Regions from separate parts of the Homo sapiens genome. Here region 2 is linked to region 1. Evidence: promoter capture Hi-C in 16 types of primary human blood cells and fetal thymus (Javierre and others, 2016). All regions are on one chromosome and are shown on one strand. Each heading gives the region's core, a stretch centred on a gene start or on the middle of the fragment in contact. The rest is flanking DNA. Distances are from core to core; before and after follow the strand shown. Region 1 holds the start of DNPH1 (2'-deoxynucleoside 5'-phosphate N-hydrolase 1). Region 2 overlaps ZNF318 (zinc finger protein 318).

Evidence for each region. Contacts are between HindIII fragments. The CHiCAGO score rates a contact against its expected background, and 5 or more counts as called.
Region 2: a contact is called between a fragment that was not itself captured here and the fragment with the promoter of DNPH1 in region 1, in 2 of 17 cell types (M2 macrophages and M0 macrophages). The highest score is 5.6, in M2 macrophages.

The regions. Positions count from the first base shown.
Region 1 is chr6:43,226,650-43,231,089 of GRCh38, reverse strand. It overlaps DNPH1 (2'-deoxynucleoside 5'-phosphate N-hydrolase 1), which reads left to right and starts at 1,609. Exons shown (of 4, transcript NM_006443.3): 1 at 1,609-1,829. The coding sequence starts at 1,634. RefSeq lists silencers at 1,311-1,750, 1,811-2,000 and an enhancer at 1,328-1,827. The HindIII fragment of the contact is 28,530 bases long and covers 1-3,535 here.
Region 2 is chr6:43,334,050-43,337,992 of GRCh38, reverse strand. It overlaps ZNF318 (zinc finger protein 318), which reads left to right. Exons shown (of 10, transcript NM_014345.3): 10 at 1-1,923. The coding sequence ends at 835. Among named protein-coding and RNA genes, the nearest start is that of CRIP3, 27 kb to the right of the region's middle. The HindIII fragment of the contact is 676 bases long and covers 2,158-2,833 here.

The DNA of each region.
Region 1 (4,440 bases), core at 360-2,859:
TGAGACCTCGTCTCTACAATTTTTTTTTTTTTGAGATGGAGTTTCACTCTGTTGCCTAGGCTGGAGTGCAGTGGCGTGATCTTGGCTCACTGCAACCTCTGCCTCCCGGGTTCAAGCGATTCTCCAGCCTCAGCCTCTGGAGTAGCTGGGACTACAGGAGTGTGCCACCACGCCTGGCTAACTTTTTGTATTTTTAGTAGAGACGGGGTTTCACCGCGTTAGCCAGGATGGTCTCGATCTCCTGACCTCGTGATCTGCCCACCTCGGCCTCCCAAAGTGCTGGGATTACAGACATGAGCCACCGAGCCCAGCCAATTTTTTTTTTATTAGCTCAGCATGGTGGCACGTGCCTGTAGTCCTAGCTACTCAGGAAGCTGAGGTGGGAGGATTCCTTGAACCCTCAAACTTGAGGCACGAGTTTGAGGCTGCAGTGAGCAATGATCGTGCCTCTGCACTCCAGTGTGGGCGACAGGGACCTTGTCACCAAAAATAATAAATAAATAAATAAATAAAGTTTTAAAAAACTTCATCTTACATTTCAAAAGGCATCAAGCCAACAGGGTCCAGATGTTCGCCTAACCAATGGAGACAACACCCAACCAGATAAGGGCATCACCCTTTACTATAAGTCCTCATCAGAGGACTCAAGGACCATAAAATGATCAGGACTTCAGCAGCTAGACACGGCCACCTTAACAGACCGAGTCTTGCTATCACTCGTGCCCAGCACCTGGTGTCTGCCTCTGAAGGCTCTGCCCAAATCAAGGACTCTTCCTTGCAAGCTCTTGATGACTATCCCCATCAGGCCGGGACTCTGTCCACAGCACTCTCCTTGGACTGGTTCGTTAACCCCTTTTCTCTTGATGTTAAATGTTCTTGTGTTTGATGTGAAATTTTAACCTGTAACATTTATATCCTTACATATAATACTATGGATGGTTTGCAATACAGTCTGACTTGTGGAGTGGCTCCAGCTTGCATGCCCGCGGCTCTGACTACCGAGTGAACAGGTGGTCCTAAGGAGAACTGACTTCTTGGGAACTCCGTGTGACGCCTAGCTTTTGTGATTGAAATAGCATCAGTAAAAACCTGATCTTGTGGACAGACACAAAGGTGGGTGGACCTGGTTCTGTCTGACCTTGAGCAGCTCACGACATGTGGACACCTGTTAGGAGGCTGTGGAGAGCCCAGAGGAGGCTTAGACCAGGGTGGTGGCCCTGTAGGCGGTCGTGAGATTTCAGATTTGGAAGGACGAATCCACACGAGTTGTCAATGGATGGGACGCAGAGTTTGAGAGAAAGGGAACGATCCAGATGACTCCGAGGGTCTTGGGCCTGAGCAGCTGGGAGGATGCAGCTGGGGAAGACGGCGGGGAGGAGGGGAGCAGAAGCGGGTGAGGTGGGGAAGCCCTCGAGTTCTGCCTGGACAAGGTCAAGTTAAGGTGCGTGTTAGGCATCCGAACGTCAAGTCCAGGAAGGGTGTGTTCCCGAAAGGGTCCCGGCTGGATCCTCCCAGTTCGTCGTCCCCATTCCACAGGTGTGGACTCAGCAGCCGGGCTCTGCGCTGGGCCGGGCGGGGTCACGTGGCCGCGGGCTGGCGCCCCCTGGCGCCGGAGAGCGCGGGCGGCTGGGGAATGGCTGCTGCCATGGTGCCGGGGCGCAGCGAGAGCTGGGAGCGCGGGGAGCCTGGCCGCCCGGCCCTGTACTTCTGCGGGAGCATTCGCGGCGGACGCGAGGACAGGACGCTGTACGAGCGGATCGTGTCTCGGCTGCGGCGATTCGGGACAGTGCTCACCGAGCACGTGGCGGCCGCCGAGCTGGGCGCGCGCGGTGAGGCCCTGGGGCCGCGGGACGCGGGGACGCGGGCGCGGACCTGGCTGGGGTGGCAGGGACCCGGCCTGTCCGCCCCCCCGACCCCCGGCAGCTGCGCTCCCGGCGCCCGGAGCCCGCCCTCCTACCCCGGTGCTCCATCCAGCGCCCCAGCCCGAGAAGGAAACGGGCCGGGGCTCGGGCTGCGTGGGTCCCAGCAAGCCTGCGGGTGTAAGGCAGACTCAGCATTATCTTGACCTTTGGTTCCTTCTTGGAGAACTCTGTCTTCAGCTGCTTTCAGAGCGTTTGTAGGGTGCAACAGAAAGAAGGTAGATTGGGCTGCTTTGCTTGGGCTCAGTTCCCACCTCACCCGCTGGAATCTTTTCCACCACCCAACACGAAAGGTATCCTCCTGCCTCCCCACCAACTTTTTTTGTTTTGTTTTGTTTTGTTTTTGAAACGGAATCTCACTCTGTCGCCCAGGCTGGAGTGCAGTTGCGTGATCTCGGCTCACTGCAACCTCGACCTCCCGGGTTCAAGTGATTCTCTTGCCTCAGCCTCCCGAGTAGCTGGGACTACAGGCACGCGTCACCACACCCGGCTACTTTTTGTATTTTTAGTAGAGACGGTGTTTCACCATATTGGTCAGGCTGGTTTCGAACTCCTGACCTCAGGTGATCTGCCCGCCTCGGCCTCCCAAAGTGCTGGGATTACAGACAGGAGCCACCGCCCAGGGCCTGCCTCCCCTTTTTCTGTGAAGACATCAGCACTCTTTTAGACCTGGCTGACCCCAGTTCTCACTATTACCCTCTCTCACATTTTTGTTTTGTTGATACAAGGGCCTCTCTGTCGCCCAGGCTGGAGTGCAGTGGTGCGATCATAGCTCACTGCAGCCTCGGCTTCCTAAACTCATGATCCTCCAGCCTCAGCCTCCTATTAGCAAGGACTGCAGGGGCACGACACCATGCCTGGCTCAAAATTTTTCTGTAGAGATTGGGAGTCTCACTATGTTGCCCAGTCTGGTCCCGACCTCCTAGCCTCAAGTGATCCTCCCGCCTCAGGCCTCCCGAAGTGCTGGGACTATAGATGTGAGCCCCCATGCTGGCCTCATATTCTCTTTCAGGCCATTATTGTGTTCTGCTCCTGGCTGCTGGGTTTTTCTTTCTCTTTCTATTTATTTAGTTATTTATTTGGAAACAGTCTTGTTCTATTACCCATGCTGGAGTGCAGTGGCAAAATCTCAGCTCACTGCTAACCTCTGCCTCCCGGGCTTGAGCAATCCTCCCACCTCAGCCTCCCAAGTAGCTGGGACTACAGGTGTGTGCCGCCATACCTGGTTAAGTTTTGTATTTTTTATAGGGACGGGATTTTGCCATGTTGGCCAGGCTGGTCTTGAACTCCTGAGCCCAAGTGATCTGCCTGCCTCAGCCTCCCAAAGTGTTGGGATTACAGACATGAGCCGCTGAGTCTGGCTGGATTTCTCTAAAGCATATTTGATGTGCTGGTCTGGAATCTTGCAGATCCTTCCAGTTTGAAAATTGTATCTTGAATGCTTGTGCTTCTGCTCAGAAAACCTTAAGTGGTTTCCACTTATCCTACCCAAGAGCAGACCCACAATTTGTGGGACCTCATGCAATTCTGGGAGACCTCTTTAAAAAGACAAAAATCACAATACAAAGTTGCTGATGGTTTGGAAAGGGCCTGTGCAAGTGGAGGACCCTGAAGCTTACAGCTCATTAGTTCATGGTATATCCAGACTGCCTGGTGGCTCTCCAGGTCTTTAGTGTCATCTGAGGGAGCCTGTTAAAAATGCAGGTTCTGATCATCTGGGATAAAGCCTTCGAATATGTACTTTTTTTTTTCCCCCAAGACAGAGTCTTGCTCTGTCGCCCAGGGTGGAGTGCAGTGGAGTGATCTCCGCTCATTGCAACCTCCTCCTCCCAGGTTCAAGCAATTTTCCTGCCTCAGCCTCCCGAGTAGCTGGGATTACAGGCGCCTGCTACCACGCCTGGCTAATTTTTTAATTTTTAGTGGAGATGGGGTTCCACCATGTTGGCCAGACTGGTCTCAAACTCCTGACCTCGTGATCCTACCGCCTTGGCCTCCCAAAGTGCTGGGATTACAGGCGTGAGCCACCGCGCCTGGCCCGAATCTGTACTTTTTCTTGTTTTTTTTAAGATGGAGTTTTGCTCTGTTGCCCAGGCTGGAGTGCAGTGGTGCGATCTCAGCTCACTGCAACTTCCGCCTCCTGGGTTCAAGTGATTCTCCTGCTTCAGCCTCCCAAGTTGCTGGGATTACAGGTGTGCACCACCACACCCAGCTAATTTTTGTATTTTTAGTAAAGATGGGGTTTCACCATGTTGGCCAGGCTGGTTTTGAACTCCTGACCTCAAGTGATCCACCCGCCCCAGCCTCCCAAAGTGCTGGGATTACAGGCATGAGCCACCGCGCCTGGCCCTGGAATCTGTACTTCTAACAAGCTCCCCAGTGGTCCTACCCTGATGCGGTGGGCTGAGCCTCACTGTCCTGGAAGATAACATTTAATCAAGCTAAGACCCGAGATCCCTACCTTCTGGGCCTAGGATGCCTCTCCTACTTTTGGCTAAGTGCCCATGCACCTTTCCCTAATCAA
Region 2 (3,943 bases), core at 1,246-3,745, 110 kb before region 1:
AGCTACAGACTTAAAGGTAGAGGAGCTTACTGCCCTGGGGAATCTGGGGGATATGCCTGTTGATTTCTGCACTACTCGGGTAAGCCCAGCACATAGATCCCCAACTGTCTTGTGTCAGAAAGTGTGTGAAGAAAATTCTGTATCACCTATAGGGTGTAATTCCTCCGATCCCGCTGACTTCGAACCAATCCCATCTTTTTCTGGGTTTCCGTTAGATTCTCCCAAAACCTTGGTGCTTGACTTTGAGACAGAGGGTGAACGAAACTCACCTAATCCCAGGAGTGTTAGGATCCCTTCTCCTAACATTTTGAAAACTGGACTTACAGAAAATGTTGACCGTGGCTTGGGGGGCCTAGAGGGAACACACCAGGCCCTTGACCTGTTAGCAGGAGGAATGATGCCTGAGGAAGTAAAAGAATCTTCCCAATTAGACAAACAAGAGTCACTCGGATTGGAATTAAAAACAATTAATTCTGCAGGCCTTGGGCCATCTCCTTGCCTTCCAGACCTTGTTGACTTTGTCACACGGACCTCTGGAGTTCAAAAAGATAAACTGTGTTCTCCACTCTCTGAGCCAGGTGACCCTTCTAAATGTAGTTCCCTGGAGTTGGGGCCATTACAGCTAGAAATATCGAATGCATCCACCACAGAGGTGGCAATTCTGCAAGTAGATGATGACAGTGGCGACCCTCTGAATTTGGTTAAAGCTCCAGTGTCAAGGTCCCCTCCAAGGGAGCAGGTAATTGAAGACAATATGGTCCCTCAGGGAATGCCTGAACAGGAAACTACAGTTGGTGCCATCCAGGACCACACAGAATCCAGTGTTCACAACTAAGAATAAATACCTAGAGCTACTTGTGAGTGAATCATTGGCTTCTAGAAATCAGATGCCCAGATGATCCAAGACTAGTTTGTTATCTCATCTGGAACCTACACCAAGAGATGCAGTCAGCATCTTAAAGTAAATGTTCATGGAAGCTAAAAAATTTACCTCCTTTCCTTTTCCCTTTCCCCTTAAAACACCAGACAAATCGATAACAACTTATATATATATATATATATCTGTAAAAATGTATTTTGTTAATTTTTTTGGCCAATTTATTTTCTCCCACTTTGTCATTAAAATCACATGTCTAACTGGCTCACCACATAGTGTGCTTTGATTGTATTTTGGCTTTGACTCTGCCATTTCTGAAATGTGGGGGAGGATGGAGGCAGCTGACCTCTCCAGTTGCTGTGTTGTATTCCTACCCAATTTCCTGGGCAGTTGATGCATCTCTGGGAAAAACACCAGAAAGCTTGCTGAAATGGAAAACTTGGAAGAATTGTTCATCTCTTAGGCTTCCATTTGGATGGGCCTGCCTTAACATTGTTTGAAATGCAGCGTGAGTAGCTCTTTTGTTTACTGTTTACACCCCTTATTGGCATGTCAACTCCTGTACTTCCCTTACTCTGTTGCCTTTCTTGAGATGCATTGTCCTGCTAACCCACAAACCTGTTTGGAAATAAACATGGAAGAATATCTGGCAGGCTTACTTTTAGAAGACGACAAATCGGTAAGGCTTATTCATGGTTCATTGCCAGGAGCAGATATGCTTTTGAGATCACTTTTATTTTTGAAATGGCCTTTGTTCATTGTATTGTGATCCAATAACACTTTGTATTAAATTGTTTAGCAGCCATTTGTGTTGTGAAGGGGTAGAAGATCTCTGAAACTTGTCTTGAGATTGAACTCATTCCCTGTTCCACAAACCCATATGTATCCTTTCCTCTACCTCCTCCTTTCCCAATTAATTTCAACCATAGTACGATGTTTGGGGTTGTATATTTTGTTAAAAAGATTAAAGAATTTATGAGTTGGCTTGGACAAGTTTAACTTTATTTTTAATGTGTTAATTACTTGGAATAAATGCATTAATCTCATGTTTCCTTCTGGATTTTTGTTTTGAAATCACACACATTTGAACTCCAAAGGAAAACTAGAACAGTGAATCCCTGCTGCCCTATTGTCTATCCGCACCCGCAACCATGCTTTCCTCACTTGTCAGAACTACTTCATGCCAGAATGTTAGGATATATAGTCTGCCCCAGCGCAGCCTGGGTGGGTAGTGAGTAGGCAACAGTTGTCTGGTATTGGTATCTTCCTGTTGTGAAGCTTTTTATATACCTTTGTGTTGACTCTCCGTAGGATTTTCTGGGAACTGAGCTCCCCTAGGACAATCAGGTTCTTGCTCTTGGGAATTAGGGAGCTCAGTCCTCAGATTTTCTCTGTCCCAGTTTCCTCTTGTATCCCTGTTGTCAGCAGTTTATAACCTGACTCAACAGGGCCTTCGGAGTCTTATTTACCCACCTGTTCCTCAAAGATAATACAAAATTGCTGATCTGGATTAACCTCCCCGCTCCCCCAATTTTTTTTTTCCTGTTTCCTTATGTACAGAGCTATAAAATCCCTAGGTCAACATTGGGAAGGATTTTTAATTTTTTTGACTAATGTCAATTTAGAAGTCATTCTGGCCTCTCTTATGTTATGGAAAGGACACAGATTTGGGAGAGCTAGATCCTTGACTGTGCCTCAGTCATTTACCTTGCTGTGATTTTAGACAAGTTAGTTTACCTTACTGTGTCACAGAGTTGTTTTGTGTTGTTTCCTTTGAGATAAGAATCGTTATCTTTATCCTAGCACCAATATGTACAGGGTCAGGGTATCCTGCCCATGTCACCTTTCTAGCCCTGGTTTTTAGGACAAAGCCTGAGTTCAATGCAGTTTTCTTGCTTGGAAACCATAGACTAACTCAAAAGGTGCCATTTAGAAGAGTTTAAACCCAAGTAAGCTTCAGAGAGATTTGTTTTCCCAGAGAACTACTCCCTCCCTGTTATAGCAGGTTATCTATAGGAATTCAGGGAACATAATTTTTAATGCCAGTTTGTGCTGATTTTCAGTCCTGTTCACTTAGTTCCACTTCCCTTTAGGGGGAGACTGATGGTTTTAGAGAAAGAGTTGGGAGGAGGTAACCATATCAAGATCCCAATCCTAACCTTACTTCCTCAGAGGGCATTGAAATCTTACCCTGTAGGTTAGGAGGGGGCTACTTGAGTGAGAAGAGAAAAAGAGGCAAAATTTATTGTAGGAAGGGCAGAACTAGTTCAGGTAGCTAGGGCTGGAGTACTTTGAGCCTAAGCTTTGGTAGTAACTCCTCTTGTATTCTCTGGATAACTTCAGGATTTACACCAAAGGCATCTACCAATCCGGCTTTTTCAAAAATAATGCTCACTTAAGAGTTACGGGAGTGACATTCTTTATATCTTCCTTGAACCAGCAGAGGGAGAACTTTGAGGATTCTGTATTCTGGGCAGGAAGTGTTGCTGCCTCCTTCCTTTTGGTTAGTGGGATCTAGCTTTGGAACCTATCCAGAGAAGACAGGTGAAAGGAAGGACAGAATTCTAACCCAGTAGCTGGAGATAGAGCATATTTTTTTGTTGTTCTCTACTATCACAGTACTGAATAAACTTTCAACTTAGGAGACTTAGGCACATGGAAGAAATGGGCCCTGAATTTTAAATGCAGCTTATGGTGTAATATAACTATGTTTTAAATTTTACAAACATCAGGAACAACTTTTATCAGATATCCTCAATTGTGAGAAGCAGATGATCAGCAATTATGTTTAAATTTGGGCAAATACCTAATTTTACCTAAGGTGTATAACCCGCTAAAAATTCCCCCTGGCCTTGCAAATGGGGGGCTTCCTGCTTTACAAGCCATATTATATTCACAGGGCACATAATATTCTGCTAATATTGCTGAATAATATAGTTAAGTATTACTTCGCCCATGACACTTCATCTTTCTAAAAAGTCAGAAAGTTAGTATTTTGGTAGCAGAGCATGCCAGCACATAGTCAATTTATCAGTCTGCCAGATTCCAGGACTGAGGAAGAATGGG